3 separate regions of the Homo sapiens genome follow, and regions 2 and 3 are each linked to region 1. Evidence: promoter capture Hi-C in 16 types of primary human blood cells and fetal thymus (Javierre and others, 2016). All regions are on one chromosome and are shown on one strand. The core of a region is centred on a gene start or on the middle of the fragment in contact, and the rest is flanking DNA. Distances in the headings are between cores, read along the strand shown.

Region 1 (2,632 bases), core at 41-2,540:
TGATTAGATACAATCGTGGAGTTAAGGTTAACAATTTCAGTTGTACATGTTATTTTACTGTACATATCTAAGCACTAGAAAATGTTACTTTTTAAATATTTCATGCCTTTTTCATAAGAACTTTACCTGAGGCCAAAAAAATGGAACTGCCAATCTTGCAGTTTATAAAACTCTTCTGATGTGAAAATAATAGACTCATTGTAAAAAAAATTTTAAAACAGAAGGGCACAAATAAAAAAAATCCCCTTAGACTTGTCCTAATACTTTCCTGTGATCCTTTTATGCAAAATTATATCTAAAAAAAAAACTTTTTCTAATGAAACCAAAGAGCCTTGCAAATTTTTACTTGTCTCCATTTGGGCTCATGCCCCATATGTACTTTGTCTATAGACTGAGTAGCTAATAGCTGCAGCGCTTGTTAGGATTGGGTTTTTTTTTAAGTACAGCAGATTCCTGTCATCTGTTTGTGTTTAAATGACGACAACATCACAACATGAAATGCCATCATGTCACATTGCTATAGCACAACAACAAAATTACAGCTCCCCAACAATAACATGCTGTCAAAGTGTCCTCCTGCCCATGAGTCAGTGTTTTAGAAGTTATGAAGATTATTTTTAGCACAGCGAGTGTCTTGGAAGCTTGGGTTCTGAATCCTACTAAAATCCTTAGTGATTTGGGAAAATCTAGGGTGGGGGTGGGCTTCCTGTTCTTAAATTCTCCCACTCCCTGACCCGCATAGCTGCCCACCCCCCGTCCCGGTCACATTAAACCCGGGTTCCATTATGCGCTGCAATCCACTTGGGGCTCGATCACAACTCTGTGCCAGCATCCCGGGAGGAGGAGGAGGAGGAGGAGGAGGGGGGGAAGGAGGGGGAGGGGGGAGGAGGAGGAGGAGGAGGAGGAGGAGGAGGAGGAGGAGACGACGACTATAATTATCCTCCACGTCTGGGGCAGGCCTTTGGATGACATCTCCCCAGTTACCCTGCGCTCTAATAGCGCAGCTCCGATTCCTGGTCTCAGAATCCAGGCGCGCCTCTGCCGGCTGGGAGCGCAACCGAAGTGCCTGGGACGTCTCGGGCTTCCGGGACTCTGCTGGTGTCTCCCAGCCGCCATCTCCAGCGCCCTCGCACCCGCCGGGCACCTGCACCGAAAACCCGGCCCCAAACTAGCGCCCCGGGGCGAGCGGCGGCATTGCCATAGTAACCGGGCGCCAGGGCCGCGGAGGCCGCCGGGGAGGAAGTGACGACCGGGGTGGGTTGGCTGTTGTTGGGACACGTGACCTAGGCAGTGTTTTGACAGGGCAAACAGCAGAGAAAGAACTGGCCGAGCGAGGGGGACGGGGAGCCGGGGCGCCAGAGCTAGAGACAGCGGGCGGGCAAGGAGCTGGCAGAGGCGCTGGGCAAGAGGGCCGGCCGGGGCTACGGGCGGGGGAAGCCCGGGGGTCGCGGGGCTCGGGTGCCAGTCAGGCAGGGCGGAGGGGCTGAGCGCAGGGAGCGGAGCGAGGCGGTGGCTGAGGCGCGGGTGGATGGCCACAGGGGCGCCGGGGAGCCGCTTCGGGCTGGTCGTCTCGGGTCCCCACGGTCACCTGAGGCAGCCGCGGGGGCCGCTGCGCTCCATACTCCGCTCCCGCTGGCCCTGCGCCTCTCGGAGCCTGGGGTCTGAGGTGGGAGTGTGATGTGAGCTGCTGGGCGAGCGGTGGAGAGAAGTGCCAAGAGGAGGCGGGATTGGGACGGGAGAGGAGAGCGAGTTAGTCAGCAGAGGTCGGCCGAGGGAGCGGAGGAGCCGGCCAGCTCGAGAGCGCCATGAAAACAACTCTCCAGCGGGGAGAGGGGCAGACGCGGCGCTCGGTGCGGCGGGGCTGAAGGAAATCCGGGGCCGCGGCGGGACGGAAGGGGTTGTGCAGAGCAGGGGGCGAGCACAGGCTGTAAACACCTCCCCCGGAGCCGGCCGCGGAGGACTGGTTGGGAGTTGGTAGGGTCGCCCCGGGACAGCCCGGAAGAGTTCGTTTGGGGCTGGGGGCTGGGCGGGAGGAGGTGACTCGGGTTTCTGTGTAAACTTGGCCGCGGTTGCCGCAGGAAGGCTAGCCAGAGGGTAATTACACAGGTGAGGCCCGGCGGGGCGGGCGGAGGGCTCGGGAGGCGCAGGGGACTGGAAGAGTTGGCTGCGCCCAGGCACCAGGTGGAAGAATTTCCATACCAGCCCTGCGGAGGTGCCTCTGTTTCCAGAGGCGTTTTTGTACGAAGGGGTTAGTTTGTGTTGCTCAAATCTTTTTCTTCTTCTTGCCTGTACCTCCAGGTTATAAATAGATCCTGTTTTGGTTCAGAGACTGTGTCAGAAGGACACATTGGCCTGGAGAGCACAGAGGCAGGGAAGGGGGTGCTCGATCCGGAGGAGATGGGGGAGGCGGTGCAGAGAGTTTTGCTTTTTTCAGACCAGCCGAGGGTGCTGTCACCGCAGTTGGTGCCAGGAAGAGGCCTAACTTAACAGTAGTTTACTTGCAAGGTCCGGGTATTAGAATAGGGCCAGATTAATTTTATTTTTGTCTCTTTCAGCATTTTGAAAGCGAAGCAGAAGCCGTAGAATCAGCGGCGAGCCTGTTGAAAGAACCCACAGGTGCATTTCACAGCAC
Region 2 (2,632 bases), core at 71-2,570, 2.7 Mb before region 1:
TTTTCCTCCTCTCTCCTGCTAGGCGATCCACACAGGCCTCCTTGCTGTTTCTCAGAGGTAGAGCTCTGATCTCAGCTTTATAGCTACTATTTCTTAAATGCTCTTCCTCCAGTTAACTGTATATAATGGTGCCTCACTCATTCAAATCTTTGCTCACATATACTTCAGCAATGAAGCTTGCCCTGACCATCGTTTTTAGAGTTAAGCTTCTCTATCCCAGCATAAATCTATCCCAGAATAAATCTCCTCAAATATTTTACAGGGTTTGACTGTTTTTGTCGACATAAGTCTAAGGTTTTTGACCTGAATGTGTGGTGACTCTTGCTTGTAATGGCTGTATTGTTTTTGGCTACTGCAATTCTGTGAGTTAGCAGAAATAGGAGCAGCAGGAAGATGATTTCAGTATTGTAGCTGTTGTGTGTTAAACACTTGAGAAACCTGCAAGGGGACATCAAAAGCAATTGGAAATATATGACTAGAGATCGAGTTAAAGAAACTACTCTGAGGAATAAAAGGAAGCCTGAGCCTAAACAGAGCTTCAAGTTTATTGTCTTCACAAAGTATTCTTCTTTTTATAACCGTATGATTTCTTAGCCTTTGTAACTGTCCTGTAAATTCTGCTTATTTCTAAATTACTATTAGTAAAGCTCTTAAAATGGGGAGGGTTTATACATTTACCAATGGTCAGATTAATGGGAGAGGAAGCTCATGGATTTCTCCAGAATTTTGAGTTCTTTTTTTTTTTTTTTTTTGGAGGTGGAGTCTTGCTCTGTTGCCCAGGCTGGAGTGCAGTGGTGCGATCTTGGCTCACTGCAACCTCCACCTCCTGGTTTCAAGCAATTCTCCTGACTCAGGCTCCTGAGTAGCTGAGACTACAGGCGCACGCCAGCATGCCCGACTAATTTTTGTATTTTTAGTAGAGATGGGGTTTCACTATGTTGGCCAGGTTGGTCTTTAACTCCTGACCTCCTGATCTGCCTGCCTTGGCCTCCCAAAGTGCTGGGATTACAGGTGTGAGCCACCGCACCCAGCCTAATTTTGAGTTCTGTAAAGAACAATTAACTGCACTATCACCCAGACGTGGTTACCTTTCTTGTTTATTGATTGCTTAATATGTATTTAGCATTCATTCAATATGTGTTGGGAATACATTATAGGCTGGTAAACAAGCAATTACAGCACAATATTCTATATTAAGTGCCAGATGCAGAAAATAATAAGAGTCTTAGGGATGGGGTCAAGGGATGGTTCTCAAAGGAAATGAACCGTTAGCTGAGACAAGCAGAGGAGTTTCGGTGGAGGTAAAGGGGATGGGCAACTGATCAGAATATGTAAAGCCCTGGAGTAAAGACAAAGCCAAGCATTTTGAGGGGAACTGAGAAGGTTGGGCAAAGCGGGAATGAATTAAAAGAGATGAGAGCTAGAGATAAAATACTTGATATTCAAGGCTTTGGGGCATTATCTTGAAGAAAATCTTAACATTTTAAAGGAATTACATAATGAGATTATCATTTGAAGATCTCTAGCTATAATGGGGAGGTTCAAACTGCCAGGGGGCTTTCATATTCACTGTGTCTAGGATAGGGCTTAAAAAGTTACTTTTTTTTTTTTCCTTTGATTGTAGTACACGCCCAACATTTTGAGAACAGTTGAATTAATAGGGTTCTTTAGTAAGCCTGTTAGTTTTGCTTATCCAAATTGTCATGGTGGTGTTAGGGCCAGCGGGAAATCTTTTTCTCTTTTGGGCTGGATGGTGTTACCAAAACACCAGGGGTTTGGTCTAGGTCCTGCTGCTTGCCGCACAGAAAGCCAATCACAGAGACGGGTATTGCCAGGGAAGAAGGCTTTAATTGGGTGCTGCAGCCAAGGACATGGGAGATCAGTCTCAAATCCATCTCAGTCTCAAATCCATCTCTGACTGACTAAAATTAGAGGTCTATATAGCAGAGAAGAAATGTAACCATGTGTGGGCAAACAGGAATTAGAGAGGGGTGAGGAAGAGAAGTTGGTCAACAGGCAGCAGGTGGTCAGTTAAGCAATCATGCAGGCTCTGGCTTCTCATTGTCCAGTTGCAGTGATCTGTTAAGTAAGTTTCAGCTTCTTAATACTATCTAGGAGGCCTGATGGTTTGTTTCCTAAGAAAGGAGCTTAGATAACACAAATAGAACTTTCTCAAGTTTTAAGACTGTGAGGATCAATTTCTGTATTTATTCAGAGAAACCATAAAGATCAGTTCTGTGGGATAATTGGCTGGTTTCAATGTTATCTTTCCTTGAAGGAAGTAAACAAAGCATTAAACTGGGGCCTGATTAAAGTGGGCTTATTGATTTGAGAAATTCAAGTATGGTAAGTTGTCCCAAGTCAGTAATGTATTTTACTTTTTTTTGTAATCTGTTAGAAGATGGGAGCAGGCAAAGGGAAGGAGGGAAGCTTTCACACAGTGGAGAAAGAATGCTTTTTAGGCTTCAGCCAGTTTTTCTTATCACAAAGCCCTCACCTACTTCTTGTTTCATATAGAATTCTTCCAGTTACCCAGTCACTTAAACCAGAAACCTGTGAGCTATCCTACACTTTCTCCCTTATATAGTTGGTTATTCAGTCCTTTAATAAAATAATCTTTAGGCTGTGTACA
Region 3 (2,632 bases), core at 68-2,567, 2.6 Mb before region 1:
ATCAGAATCACCTGGAGTGCTTGTTGAACCACAGACACCTGTGCCCTATCCTCAGAATTTCTGATTCAGCTGGGTGGGCCCAAGAATGTGCAAATCTAATAAGTTCCTAGAAGATGCTATAATACTGGTCTTGGAACCACAGTTTGAGAACCACTTAACTTAGCGAATTATAAAACGTACTGATGGCTGGACTCTAGCAGCTTATAGGAAGGAGGCGGTGATACTGAAGGCAGAAGCTTAAGGAGCAGGGATTTTATTGTGGAGATTGTGGGGAGCCATTAACAGGAGAGTGATGGACTCTCATTTGCCTTTTGGAAAGATCACTTTGGGTGTGGTGTGGAGGATGGATCAGAGTCAAGAATACGTGGGGACCAGAAAACCAAATAAGTGGTTTATTATAGCCATCTAAGAAATAATAAAAACTTGGAGTAGGAGCAAGAAGATGAATATCCTTAGGACTTGGTGGCCAATTGGAAGTGGGAGGGGCAGAGAGGGAGGAGTTAATGAGAGCCATCAGATTTCTGGCTGTGTTGGGATTGTGTGATTCAAGACACAGGAAGAGAAGTGGGTTTGAAGCAAGGTTGTGGAGAAAAGCAAAGGAGGTGAGTACGGGACATGCTGGATTTGAGATGCCAGCAAGATATCTGGGTGGACTCCCTTGTAGGCAGTTTTACTTATGAAATTGGAGGCCAGCTGCAAGGTCTGGTAAGTAATCTAGCCCCATCCCTCCTGCCACTTCCATTTGATCCCCCATATTGTTTGTTTGGATCAGGCATTGTATTTGTAAGCAACAATATGAATATAACCTTTAAGGGCCTTGAGAATACAAGGCACTTTCTCAAGAAAACAAATGTTCTACTGTTTTGATTCACGGGGTAGGTGGGCGGAAGAAAGAGCTGAAGTGCAGAGTCTTCTAACACCAGAAGAGGTTAATAAAGCCGCCCTCTGAGTGGCCAGTCGAACTGGAACTTGGTAAGCTTGAAAGGGGCAAAAATCACTTGACTGGTCTGCAGTGCCATATGACAAACAGCTGAGACTAATTAGCTGGATTGTGGGTTTTTACAGCGATGCCTGTTTTGAAAGTTGATGGAGCGAACTGCTTTTCCAAAGACTCTTTTGAAAAACTTTTTAAGTAGGCCATTCTGACTTTAACATTTCTCTTTGTCTTAACATTAGACAAAAAGTAACCTTCCTGAAGAGGACATGTGATTGGAAGTTGTCAATTGTTGAAGCATTGGTAACTCCAGTCTCTAACGTTTTAGAAAATCATAACAAGCGGTTCTCTACCCTGTAAAGGTATGGTTTTGTATTTATCTTTTTTTTTTTTGGTAGTGGTTTTGAGCTCTGTCATGTCAATTTTCATGCGCTTAAATTATGTGCAATATAACATACAATACCATTGCACGTACTGTTTTTAAACTAAAGACTTAATGATGTCTACTAAATTTCTTGGGATTAGTTTGAAAAGTGCATTTTCAGTGACCACGGAGTGGGTATGAATACTGACCGCATTCTTCCTTTCTTTTCTGTACTTGAATAAAGAAACATAGGTTTTTACTTTCAGGAAATTGTTGAATATGAGAGCTGATTAGGAAATTGAATTATTCTGAGAGTCTTGCTTATCCTCTGAGGGTTGTTTGACAAAAATTCAAGCTTATTGGTGTTTTGTTTTTGATAGTATTAATAGCTTTTGTTTTGTTTTGTTTTGTTTTTTAAATTTGAGACAGAGTCTTGCTCTGTCGCCCAGGCTTGAGTGCAGTGGTACAATCTCGGGTCACTGCAACCTCTGCCTCCCAGGATCAAGTGATTCTCCTGCCTCAGCATCCTGAGTAGCTGGGACCCCACGCTACCATGCCTGGCTAATTTTTGTATTTTTAGTAGAGATGGGGTTTCACCATGTTGGCCAGCCTGCTTTCTAACTCCTGACCTCAAGTGATCTTCCCACCTGGGCCTCCCAAAGTGCTGGGATTACAGGCATGAGCCACCGTGCCCGGCCTAAAAGTGTTAATAGTTTTAATGGAGGAATGTAAGTGTGTGTTTTAGTATAAGGTTTATTTCTTCTGGGAATTAAATCTGCTTTTAAATTAGTGTTAATTCTGTTAGGTTTGATAAGGGTATTGTTATGTAAGGAAATGTCCATATATTTTAGAAATACGAAATGAAGTATGCCGGAGTGAAAGATCTGAGTGGTGAGTGTGATGGGAGATTTCATTATATAATTCTACTTCTGGATATTGTATTAGTTTACTAGAGCTGCCATAACAAAGTACCATAAACTGGGTGGCTTTAAAACTGTGTGATTTCAAAAACAGAAATTTATTGCCTCACAGTTCTGGAGCCTGAAAGTCTAAGATCAAGATGTCAGCGGGGTTGGTCCCTTTTGAGGACTGTGAGGGAGAATCCGTTCCAGGCCTTTCTGCTTAGCTGTGGATGGCTGTCTTCTCCCTATGTCTCTTCATGCCATCCTCCCTGTGTTCATGTCTGTGATCCCAGTTCCTTTCTTGTGAAGAGACCATGAGGGTGGATTAGGACCCACCCTAATGACCTCTTTTTAACTTGATTCCCTCTATAAAGGTCCTAGCTCCAAAAAACATTGTATTCTGAGGTACTGGGAGTTAGGGCTTCAACATGT

Evidence for each region. The method cuts DNA at HindIII sites, captures the fragments that hold promoters and counts their contacts. A CHiCAGO score of 5 or more calls a contact.
Region 2: a contact is called between a fragment that was not itself captured here and the fragment with the promoter of ATOSA in region 1, in 1 of 17 cell types (M0 macrophages). The highest score is 5.4, in M0 macrophages.
Region 3: a contact is called between a fragment that was not itself captured here and the fragment with the promoter of ATOSA in region 1, in 1 of 17 cell types (M0 macrophages). The highest score is 7.4, in M0 macrophages.

Annotation. Positions count from the first base shown.
Region 1 is chr15:52,678,046-52,680,677 of GRCh38, reverse strand. It overlaps ATOSA (atos homolog A), which reads left to right and starts at 1,290. Exons shown (of 13, transcript NM_001385016.1): 1 at 1,290-1,850; 2 at 2,556-2,632. It overlaps LOC105370821 (a long non-coding RNA gene), which reads right to left and starts at 1,073. Exons shown (of 4, transcript XR_932255.4): 1 at 985-1,073. RefSeq lists a silencer at 1,355-1,674 and enhancers at 2,255-2,394, 2,525-2,594. The HindIII fragment of the contact is 2,387 bases long and covers 644-2,632 here.
Region 2 is chr15:55,394,275-55,396,906 of GRCh38, reverse strand. The region is part of intron 1 of CCPG1 (cell cycle progression 1); the gene reads left to right. All of the region lies in intron 8 of DNAAF4-CCPG1 (DNAAF4-CCPG1 readthrough (NMD candidate)), which reads left to right. Among named protein-coding and RNA genes, the nearest start is that of CCPG1, 13 kb to the left of the region's middle. The HindIII fragment of the contact is 2,224 bases long and covers 209-2,432 here.
Region 3 is chr15:55,268,829-55,271,460 of GRCh38, reverse strand. It overlaps RAB27A (RAB27A, member RAS oncogene family), which reads left to right. Exons shown (of 7, transcript NM_183235.3): 2 at 1,177-1,296. Among named protein-coding and RNA genes, the nearest start is that of RAB27A, 20 kb to the left of the region's middle. The HindIII fragment of the contact is 676 bases long and covers 980-1,655 here.